Regions from separate parts of the Homo sapiens genome. Here all the other regions are linked to region 3. The links are contacts of gene promoters, found by promoter capture Hi-C in human tissues and cell types (Jung and others, 2019). All regions are on one chromosome and are shown on one strand. Each heading gives the region's core, a stretch centred on a gene start or on the middle of the fragment in contact. The rest is flanking DNA. Distances are from core to core; before and after follow the strand shown. Region 1 has its middle 3.5 kb from the start of NR1D1. Region 2 holds the start of GJD3 (gap junction protein delta 3). Region 3 holds the start of EIF1 (eukaryotic translation initiation factor 1). Region 4 overlaps WIPF2 (WAS/WASL interacting protein family member 2).

Region 1 (2,778 bases), core at 66-2,565, 1.6 Mb after region 3:
TTCTCTAAGTCTCAGTTTCCCCATCTCTAAAATAAGAATGAGACCTACAGCATAGGGTTGTTGTGAATATTAAATGAGATAATGTGTACAAAACACTTTGCACAGTGCCTGGCATACGGTTGGTACTTAATACATATTTATGGTTTCCTTTCCTTGGAAAAAGCAGTAGTGAGGTAAAGATAGAATCTGAGGCAAAACACATCCATGGAACCCAGCCCTGGCTCATGCCTCGCCCTTGCTTTCTCCATCCCCCTCCCCCCACCACACTGAGAAACAAGTTAGCTCAGACTCTGTCCTTCCTGTGGCATGTTCTTAAAGTTCTCCCCAAAACATCCAGGCTTTGGGTGGGGTTGGGAAAGATAGCTGGCCTTTTAGAGACAAAGAAAAGGATTTAGGAGGGCAGGGAGTGAGTCTCTCCCAGGCACATGGCTGGTTCCCTGATTCAGGGGCATCCCCAGCATTTCTATACCAGGTTTGCATCACCTGGGCAGACAGGTTTCTACTCTGGGCAATGGTTTCTTGGTGAGAAAGGAGGGGGATGGGAAGGCATCTACAGAAGCCTGACCTGTTTCCAGCAAGGACCCACCCTCAGTCAGTCAGTCAGTCAGTCAGTCAGTCAGTCAAGCAGTTGGCCCAAGATTTAGGCCACCCAGAATTTGCACAGGGTGTTGCCCTGTTACCCAGAACAACCTACTGACAGGGAGAACAGATCTCAGATCAAACATGCACACCCACACACACAGCATTCACACTCACACACAAACATGCAGTCTCACTCATAGTCATAGAATCACACACACACACACACACACGTGCACACATACATAACTGACCAGAGCTTAGTGTTCTCAATACCTTTCCTTCTTCTCCTCTGTGTCTGCTGTCCTCTGCAGTCCAAATAAATCAAGGAAAATTAAAGACATATTTGGAAACACACAGGCAGGATCCAACACTGCCCCTAATGGGAAGGTTCGTCCCCAGAATCCCAGACTTGGGAATCCAAGTGGAAGTGTATGCAGAACCAGGGCAGTGCCTTGCTGTACCAGGTTGTGAATATGCATCTTTTCTACCTGGATCCAATCTGAGTACTATTTATGAAGAGTTAAGTGCTTTCTTGAGTTGAACTGGGCTATGGGAGAAATGGGGTGTGTGTGTGTGTGTGTAGAAGTGAACAGCAGGCCGGGCATGGTGGCTCACGCCTGCTATCCCAGCACTTTGGGAGGCTGAGGTGGGTGGATCACCTTAGGTCAGGAGTTCAAGACCAGCCTGACTAATATGGTGAAACCCCATCTCTACTAAAAATATAAAAAAAATTAGCCAGGCATTGTGGCGTGCTCCTGCAGTCCCAGCAACTTGGGACGCTGAGACAGGAGAATGGCTTAAACCCGGAAGGTGGAGGTTGCAGTGAGCCACTGCACTCCAGCCTGGGCGATAGAGTGGGACTCTGTCTCAAAAAAAAAAAGAAGTGAACAGCAATGTCCAGCTGGAGGGATAGGTGAGGAAGGTTGTGTTGAGATACACCTGTTGTCTTAAGGTCTTACAGCCAAGGTTGAGGTCAAAGAGAAACCAAGATTCTACTCCGAATCACCCAGAGCCAGACAACCCAGCCTTTCCCCCCTCCCTTTGGTGGCTTTGGGTCTCAGAGTTTCTGCCCTTCTCCCAGCAGCTGCTGACAGAGAAAGGAGCAGGGTACACAGACTGACTAGAAGCTTCTGGGGCCAAGAGAGAACCCTGCCTTTTCATTCTGTACTCCTCTCACCAGCTGTAGAAGAAAGACACCCGAATTACTTGTGAGGGAGAAAAGGAAGGGCCCTATAAGAAATGGAAAGGAAGGAAGGAAGGAGCAAGGGGGTAACCCCTCTCCTTTGCCCCCTCCCTCCCAGCCTCTGCCTTCACACCACACACAGACTGCAGAACCACCCAGGTTTTGCCAAGAGGAGAGTCAGGCTGACTGAATTTCAGCTCTCTCTACCTCTGCTCCCTCCTCCTTCTCACTGATTGCAGCAGGCGAGGAGTCTTGACCCACCCCAGCTCCCACTCCTAGAAGAACAAACATCCAGCAAGTATACAGGGGGTGGGTAGGACCTCCACAGCAGCAAACAGAGCTGTGGGCCTTGGGGAGGACCCCGGCCAAGTAAAGGGAGGGTGCTAGTGGTGGTGCTGTGCTGTGGGGAGCTAGATGCACGCCAGGGGTCCTGATTTTGAGTCCAGCCCTGACAGACACCTGGGCTCTGGCCCTGGCTCTGACTTGGAGTCAAGGTCACAGAGAGCAGGCAAGGGCAGGACAGGGCAATTCACCTCCTAGCTTTCCCTCCAGAGCCCAGAGGGTGGAGGGAGAGGGGGTGGAGGCTGAGAACCAAGTTTTCCTGAAAAGCCTCTTTCCTTGTTTGTTTTAGCCCCTCCCAGTTGCTCCCACACTCTGCTGCAGCTTCCCAACTCTGGGCCAAAGGGCCAGAGAAGAGCCCACTGCCCTCTCTCTCCCACTTTTCTTGGGAGCAGGAGAACAAAGCTAAAGCCTAGCCCATTCCAGGAAGCTCATCTTCTACAAGGAGTCAGAGGGTGAGTGGTCAAGCTCCTGCAGTCAACCTCACTGTCCTCACTACCCAGTTTACTCCTGTGCTCATATTATTATTCTTTTTTTTTTTTTCTTTTTTTGAGATGGAGTTTCGGTCTTGTTGCCCATGCTGGAGTGCACTGGCGCGATCTCAGGTCACTGCAACCTCTGCCTCCCGGGTTCAAGCAATTCTCCTGCCTCAGCCTCCCGAGTAGAGTAGCTGG
Region 2 (2,712 bases), core at 210-2,709, 1.3 Mb after region 3:
GGGAACTCTCAATTCAGAGCCTTCTGGGGGGAAAAAGTCCTATTTTTCACATTATAAAATAACATGAGGCCGGGCGCGGTGACTCAAGCCTGTAATCCCAGCACTTTGGGAGGCCGAGGCAGGTGGATCACCTGAGGTCAGGATTTCGAGACCAGCCTGACCAACATGGAGAGATCCTGTCTCTATTAAAAATACAAAATTAGCTGGGCATGGTGGCACATGCCTGTAATCCCAGCTATTCAGGAGGCTGAGGCAGGAGAATCGCTTGAACCCGGGAGGAGGAGGTTGCGGTGAGCTGAGATCACACCACTGCACTCCAGCCTGGGCAACAAGAGCAAAACTCTGTCTCAATAAATAAATAAATAAATAAATAATAAAATAACATGTTAGGCCGGGTGTGGTAGCTCACGCCTGTAATCCCGGCACTTTGGGAGGCTGAGATAGGCGGATTGTTTGAGGTCAAGAGTTCGAGATCAGCCTGGTCAACATGGCGAAACCCCACCTCTACTAAAAATACAAAAATTAGCCGGGCGTGGTGGCGCACACCTGTAATCCCAGCTACTGGGGAGGCTGAGGCAGGAGAATCGCTTGAACCCGGGAGGCGGAGGTTGCATTCAGCCAAGATCATGCCACTGCACTCCAGCCTGGGCGACAGAGCTAGACTCCATCTCAAAACAAACAAATTAAAAATAAATAAATAAATAACATGTTCATTATAGTAAAGCTGGAAATAACAGAAAAGTGGGAAGGAAACCAAAGATTTTATTTAACTATCAAAGCCAGGCACTTGGGATATTTTAATGGTTTTCCATATGGGATTTTTTTTTTTTTTTTTTTTTTTGCAGGCACAAGGGTTTTTTTGGTTCTCTGTAATATGGTTGGGAATTCAATATTAAGAAGTAGAGAATCCCAGCTACTCAGGAGGCTAAGGTGTGAGGATCACTTGAAGCCAGGAGTTCAAGATCGACCTGGGCTATGTAGAGAGACCCCGTTCCAAAAAAGATGTAAAGCTGGAAGGAAACTTGGGGGTCAGCTGGACTGGCCGCCTTTGTTGACAAGGCAGGAAAGCCTGGCTCAGTACCGCCGAATGATTTGTCCAAGGTGAGCGGTGGCAGAGCTGGAACCAGAAGCTGTTAGATGTTTGCTGCCCCTTAAACTCCAGCACCAAACCTCCCTCTGTCCCCGAAGACCATCTTCACAGGGCATGGTTAGTGCGTAGTGGATCTAGGCTCCAGACTGAGGGTCTGTCTGGGAAGGGCTTCTAGGAATCCCCCAGCTTCCTCGATAAAGGATGTGGCTCTGGTTACCCCCCTCCCCCATTTCCAGATGGAAATTTAGCTAAAGAGTGAGGGCCACAGAGCCCAGCAAGGGGCGTGGTCCGTGCCTGTTCCCAAGGGCGGAGCCAGCCAGCAGGGTCACCCTGTTCCTTTAAGAGAAGGGGGAGCGCTAGCCCCTCTCAGCCATCCTGTCCTGTCCTCCATCCTGGCCAAATCCGAAAGGGAAAATGAAAGAGGGAGCAGGAGGCGCCGGTCCCAGCCACCTCCCAAGGTCCCTGGCTCAGCTCTGACACCCCAGTCCCGGCCCCAGGGTGAGTGGGGTTGGGTGGCGGTTTAGGGGCACCAGGGGCGTGTGGGGACCTGTGTAAGTGTGGGGTGGGGAGGATCTCAGGAGATGTGGAGGCTGGAGGCACAGGAGGCCAGGGAGGAGGGAGAAGCCTGGCGTCGCACTCCCACCACGCTGGGGTAGGAGGGCAGGGACACCTCCGACAAAGGACCCTGTGAGAGTTATGAAAGCGGAGTTGCCTCTGTACCAGCCCCCCACCCTGAGAGGAGTTCACTGCAGTAAAAATGGTGAGAGAAATGGTGGGCCAAGAAAGGAGTGGTCTCGCTGCCTCTGCCACTCCCACTCCTCCCATGGGCACCAAATTGGGTCTAGCGTCTCGGGTTCGAGGCTCCACTCTTCCCACAGCATCCTTGACAGCTAAGGGCACCGCTGGGTTTCCGCTTCCGAAACCAGGCAAGTCAGGGGCTGGTCCAGCTGATCTCCAAGGTCCTTCCTAAGAATCTGGGATCTGGAGGATCCCAGGGTCGAACGGAGACGGCTCAGGGGGTGCGGCTAAAATGCAAATGGGGGATCCTCCCCAGCACCCATCGGTCCCAAAGAGAAGGTAACCCATAGCTGAGCGTCGCCTGCTCCCCTCGGGCCCTCCCGTGGCCCTCCGTTTCATACTGGTCTCATCGCTAAACCCGGGCCTCTCCTACCTCACGACTCACCCTGAAGTCAGAGAAGGTCCAACGGACCCCACCCCGATAGGCTTGGAAGGGGCAGGGGTCCCTGACTTGCCCCATCCCCTGACTCCCCGCCCCGCGTCCCCAGCGCCATGGGGGAGTGGGCGTTCCTGGGCTCGCTGCTGGACGCCGTGCAGCTGCAGTCGCCGCTCGTGGGCCGCCTCTGGCTGGTGGTCATGCTGATCTTCCGCATCCTGGTGCTGGCCACGGTGGGCGGCGCCGTGTTCGAGGACGAGCAAGAGGAGTTCGTGTGCAACACGCTGCAGCCGGGCTGTCGCCAGACCTGCTACGACCGCGCCTTCCCGGTCTCCCACTACCGCTTCTGGCTCTTCCACATCCTGCTGCTCTCGGCGCCCCCGGTGCTGTTCGTCGTCTACTCCATGCACCGGGCAGGCAAGGAGGCGGGCGGCGCTGAGGCGGCGGC
Region 3 (2,700 bases), core at 85-2,584:
GGCACAAATCAAGTAGTGACTGAACTCACCTCTACGAGGAACTGGCATATGTTCTTGCGTTGGTCACCCTGTAGCTGAATTACTTCTCCATATTCCGGATGCTCAATTACAGTACCATTGCAGGCAAACTTCTGCAAGCACAAAGGAAAACGAATTAGGCCTAGCAAGAGCATGAACGCATTTATCACCCCTTCCGCTAACAATACATACAACACAGCTGGCACCCCCTTGTGGACAAATCCATTATGACTTTCCCAAAATCTCACTGAAGACCTACTTTCTTAAACGCCTTCACTAGTTTCTTTTTATCGTAATCATCAGCGATCCCTTGGACAGTAGTAAGGGTCTTCCTGCCGTTTCTCTGTTGAATTCTTATATGGATATAATCCTCAGTGCCAGCAGGAAGCAGGTCATCACCCTTACTTGCATCAGCAAAGGGGTCTGAAAAAAAAGGTTAAGCTCGTTCAGAGCTGTCAAAGATAGGATGCCACTGCCATCCCCTCGGTCCCCAGGTGTTTTGCGCGTGCAGAAAACAACACTGAAATCGTCAGGGCTTGGGCCAGGCCGAATGTGTCCTTTGCTGGCTCTCCCCGAGCAGGTCAGTCCGGGACGGCCAGCTTCCCCAGGCTCGGGGAACGCCCGGGCCTCCCGCCCTCCCTGGGAAGCCGATCACATGTCGGGGGAGTCCGGGCTGCCAGGCGGTGCCCCACCCAGCTGATGCAACCCGCCGGAACCCGAGCTCCCGAGGCGGGGCTAAGCCTCCCACCCCCATTGGTGCACCCGCTTGCCACTTAGGGCTGGCACCGCCTTTCCCTCCGGATCCGTGACAACGGGTGGTGACGTAACGGACGTGACGCAATGGTGACGGGAGGGGCGGGTGTGGCCCGAGGAGGCCCAGGAGCCATTAGTAAATGCGCCACTGAGACGCCGGGCCCGCCCAAGGGCTGACCTACCGCCTGCTCCTTCCGGTCGCGCTCAGGGTCCGACCCCGGGGCCCAGGCCTTGATCCCGCTGCCCTGCGACCCTGGTCAAGTTTCCCCTGCCCGAGCTTACGAAGGCCCGGAGCGCTTGGCAACTTCCCGGAACACGTCTCCGGGCCCGGAAGGCCCCGCTGCCCCACCCGGGCCCGCGACCTTTCCCATAGCTTACCGAAAGAGTGGAGGTTCTGGATAGCGGACATACGATACGATTCCTTTTCCTCGGTGGAAACGGCCTGCGGAAGGCGGCGGCGGCGGTGGCGGGAGAAGGCGGGCAGGGGGGAACGGAACGTCGGGAAGCGAGGGGGCTCAAGGGGGAGGCTGCTGAATCCTCGGCGGCGGCTCAGTGACTGGGGCAGAGGGGCGGTGCCTGTGTTTAGTTATATAGCCGCGCCTCTGACGCCAGCGCGCTGCCCTCACGTCCTGACCCCACCCACAGCGTCGTGCCCCAAGCGCCCAGGCGGCGCCGCTTCCAATTGGTTTGGAGGCGGGGACATGGGATGGCGCTTGCGCAGGAAGTCTGCGGCAGGAGGGCGTCCTCTTGACTCTAGGAGAGCTGGGAGGGGGAGGGAAAGCTTGATCTGTCTCGGAGCCTGCGCAGTGCGAGTGGACGGTGTCTGGGTGCCGAGAATACCGGCCCAGGTTTCGAGCGCGCCTACGCACTGTGTCCTTTGGTACGTTCCACCTTCTTGACCCTGTTGCATCCCTGTCTTCTCGAAAAGGGGAGTTTCATATGGTAAATGAACACTCCTTAGAGAGGATTTAGATGATGAGCCTCCCAAACACGAGAAATCCCCGTTGTGTCAAACCCACCTACCTACCCACCCTACTACCCACGGAGTCACAGCGGGATTTAGGGCGGCACTTTGATTAATCAACATACAATAATATAATCAAAACGGTAACCGCATAATTTAGATTGCCATTTAGATTTATTCTAAAGTGGGTTAATCCGATCTAAAATTTTCATTTAGATTAGATTAATCCATCTAAGGAAAAAGTGTGCCCAGCTCATTGGCATGAGTTCAAGGTATAGTAACTGGTTCTGGGCCCCCCCGAGAATAATTCTGGCACCAGAGGGCGTCCTTCATGTGGCACAGCTTGTGTGGAGTAGAGCCTTCCTAGAGTTTAGATGAAATATTTCCTTCAAAACAGTCAACCTTTCTTGCTTTCAGTTTATTTATTTCAACACTCAGTTGTAGGGGTAAGTAGAGTGGTGAAAAGAGACCAGGAATTTTAGACTCAAAGGCCTCCGGGGATAGGCAGGTAAGTAGGATCAAGGAGTGCAAACAGCCAAGTGTGATGTAATGGGGTGGACTGGGGGCTGGAGTAAGAACTACGGGCTGCAGTGGCCGCTCACCTCCAGCCCATTGTGCTAGATCTTTTTCAAGAGTGCCAGGAAATCCAGGTGTTTACATAAAATCTCTTGATTTTTAAATATTGCCAATAAATTGATTTTTTTTTTGAGACAGAGTCTCACTTTGTCGCCGAGGCTGGAGTGCAGTGGCACTGTGTCGGCTCACTGTAACCTCCGTCTCCTGGGTTCAAGCAATTCTTCTGCCTCAGCCTCCCGAGTAGTTGGGGTTACAGGCATCCACCACCACGCCCGGCTAGTTTTTTAAAAATATTTTTAGTAGAGATGGGTTTTCACCATGTTGGCCAGGCTGGTCTTGAACTCCTGACCTCAGGTGATCTGCCTGCCTCGGCCTTCCAAAGTGCTGGG
Region 4 (2,788 bases), core at 172-2,671, 1.4 Mb after region 3:
ACATGCCTGTAATTCCAGCTAGTCAGGAGGCTGAGACACAACAATCACTTGAACCTGGGAGGAAGAGGTTGCAATGAGCAGAGATTGCACCACTGCACTCCAGCCTGGGCGAAAGAGCAAGGCTCTGTCTCAAAACACAAACAAACAAATAAATAAATAAAGGCCAAGAAGCTGTTTGTGGAGGGTATGTCTCAAAGTCTAATGATACAACGATATGGGAGCCAAAATTCCCATGTCCAATAAGGCCCCAGAGAGCTGTCACGGTCTCCCTCACTCTAAAATTTCAGTTATGCTAATTATAACGAGATTACACAACCTCTTCTTTTTCCAGGGTTCCTAAATTCCCTCCTCACCCAGCTTAGGCTCCATTATTGCAATCACTCCCTCACATACACCCTTCCCTTCCTGCCCCACTCTCCCTTAGAGTCGCACATGCCTAAAACATGCTAACGCTGGTTAAACACAGCTCTACTCTTTTTCTGTACCTGCAAATCACAACTGAACACATGAGACTAATTAATCTCACATGAAATGTATGGCCCATAATCTCAAGTGGGCCCTTCGCGTGGTTGCCTATCTGAGCACACTTCCCTAGTCCACCCACACTCCCACGCTCCAGATGACCATTTCATGCCTCTTCTCTCTCCTCAACTCTCCTTCTCCTTCCCTCGCCTCAATCACAGCTGATGCTCTTGCTTTCCATTTCACTGAGAAAACAGAAGCAAATTAGAATAAACTTTCCACATGCTTCTACCACTACACCCACCTACCCACTTGCTTCTAAGCCTATATGCTCTGCCTCCCCTCTTGTTACTATGGAAGAACTATGTTCCTATCTAAGGCCAACCCTTTTTATCTATCGATCACATTCTCTTTTCTCTGGCCTCCTCCAGGTCATTATTCAGGCAATCTGTTCCCTCTCTTCTGATTCAATTTTTTCCCTCTCTCCTAAGTTTCATGCTACTCATTCCATCAGCATACAAATAGGTCTCCCATCTTGGGATGGGAAAAAAACAACTCTCAACCCCACATCTTCGTCCAACAATCACTTCACTTATCTTCACCCCTCTCTCCTGGACTTTACAGCGAACTCTTTAAGAGATTTCTATATTGCTATCTCCAATTTCTCTCCTCCTATTCCTGCATTCTTGAACCCACTCCAATTAAGCTTTCACTTTCACCCTCCACCACTCCACTGAAACTACTCAAAAGGGTCCCATGATACTAAGACCAATGCCAGTTCTTGGTCTTTAACTTACCTGACCCATCTGCAGCACTGGGCACAGCTGACCACTTACTCTACCTTGGAGTTTTTCCATCACATTCTTGGTTTTTCTCCTTCCATCCTCACTAGAAGCTTTTCTGTTTCCTCTGCTGGGTATTCTTCATCTCTTTTGCCTCTAATGTAGGAGGGCGAGGGCTCAGCCCTCATTTTTTTTTTTTTTTTTTTTGAGATGGACTGTCACTCTGTCGCCCAGGCTGGAGTGCAGTGGCGTGATCTCGGCTCACTGCAACCTCTGCCTCCTGAGTTCAAGCGATTCTCCTGCCTCAGCCTCCTAGGCCTCTTCTTATCTATATTCACTCCTTAGGTGACTTCATCCAGCATGTGGTTTTCAACACCATTCAAATGTATCTCTCTAGCCGAAACCTCTCCCCTCAACTTTGGAGTCTGATAGCCAATTACCAATTCATTGTCTCTTCTTGATTACCTAACAGGCATCTCAAACTTGTCTCAAACTGAACACCTATCTTCCCACAAATTCACAGTAGTCCTAACCATCTGGCCGTTTACTGCAACAGCCCAGTAACTGGTCTCCTTTTGTCACCTTTGTCCTCCTGCGGTCTGTTCTCAACATAGGAGTTAATGATCTTTTTAAAAGGTGAATCAAATCATACTACTTCTCTGTTTAAAACCCTCCAGTGGCTTCCCATCTCACACAGTTAAATCCAAGGTCTTTGCAAAATCCTGCAGTGCGCTCTCCCCTGCAGCTCCAGCTTTCCAACCTCCAAGTCCTACCACTCTTCCCTCCCCTCACTCTTTGTAGTCTTGCCACAATGGCCCCCTTGCTGTCCCCAAAATGTTTCAAGAATACTTCTGCCTTATGGCCTCTGCATTTGTTGTTCCCACTGCCTGCAACAGCTGTTCTCCTAGATAACTACTAAGCTTACTCGTCACTTTCTTAAGGTCTTTGTCAAATTTTCACCGTATCAGTAAGGACTGTCCTGACTCTCTCCCCACTCCTCCAATTAAAGATATCATCATCCCGACCTCCGCCCCAGTATATCTTATTCCTCTCCTCTGCTTTGTAATTCTCTAAAGCATACTGCATACTATGTATTTATATATTTTACTAGTTTGACTGTCAAATTTTTTTGTCTTTTCTATTTATTGCTATTTCCCTACCAACAGACCTGACACATAAAAAGGTACTCAATAAACCCACTGAGTGAATAAACGAATTACTGTCTTCAAGGAGTGCTCTGGGGAAAGATAAAATCAACTCACAGCATGATAGGGAAAAAGGTGCTTCCAAGCACTTACCTGCTCCCCGACTGGGAGGGTCTCGGGCTGGGGGAGGTGGCCTATTACTCAGTAAAGATGGGGAGGCCGAGGTGGGTGGAGGAGGTGCTAGGCCTCTGACAGGCCCTGGTGTCTTCCTATGCAAAGAATTGTGTCTCTGTGGCAGCTCAGGGGCTGACTCATTAGTGGGGCTAGAGGGTCCATTGGGGACCCCAGGAGGCTGGCGGTAAGGCGGAGGAGGAGGAGCCAGAGACTGGCCACTTGGTC

Evidence for each region. The method cuts DNA at HindIII sites, captures the fragments that hold promoters and counts their contacts. A contact is called where the count stands out against the background at its distance.
Region 1: a fragment that was not itself captured here is called in contact with the fragment with the promoter of EIF1 in region 3 in 1 of the 25 tissues and cell types used here (dorsolateral prefrontal cortex).
Region 2: the fragment with the promoter of GJD3 here is called in contact with the fragment with the promoter of EIF1 in region 3 in 1 of the 25 tissues and cell types used here (heart right ventricle).
Region 4: a fragment that was not itself captured here is called in contact with the fragment with the promoter of EIF1 in region 3 in 1 of the 25 tissues and cell types used here (dorsolateral prefrontal cortex).

Annotation. Positions count from the first base shown.
Region 1 is chr17:40,102,746-40,105,523 of GRCh38, reverse strand. No RefSeq gene overlaps it. Among named protein-coding and RNA genes, the nearest start is that of NR1D1, 3.5 kb to the right of the region's middle. RefSeq lists an enhancer at 1,683-2,562. The HindIII fragment of the contact is 5,880 bases long and covers 1-2,778 here.
Region 2 is chr17:40,363,484-40,366,195 of GRCh38, reverse strand. GJD3 (gap junction protein delta 3) reads left to right here and starts at 1,459. Exons shown (of 1, transcript NM_152219.4): 1 at 1,459-2,712. The coding sequence starts at 2,381. GJD3-AS1 (GJD3 antisense RNA 1) reads right to left here. Exons shown (of 1, transcript NR_186704.1): 1 at 761-2,712. The HindIII fragment of the contact is 8,775 bases long and covers 1,220-2,712 here.
Region 3 is chr17:41,687,519-41,690,218 of GRCh38, reverse strand. It overlaps EIF1 (eukaryotic translation initiation factor 1), which reads right to left and starts at 1,334. Exons shown (of 4, transcript NM_005801.4): 1 at 1,150-1,334; 2 at 278-441; 3 at 30-131. The coding sequence starts at 1,180. RefSeq lists enhancers at 1-724, 650-739, 725-1,633 and a silencer at 1,120-1,509. The HindIII fragment of the contact is 6,244 bases long and covers 1-2,700 here.
Region 4 is chr17:40,264,901-40,267,688 of GRCh38, reverse strand. WIPF2 (WAS/WASL interacting protein family member 2) reads right to left here. Exons shown (of 8, transcript NM_133264.5): 5 at 2,543-2,788. Among named protein-coding and RNA genes, the nearest start is that of CDC6, 22 kb to the left of the region's middle. The HindIII fragment of the contact is 4,401 bases long and covers 1-2,788 here.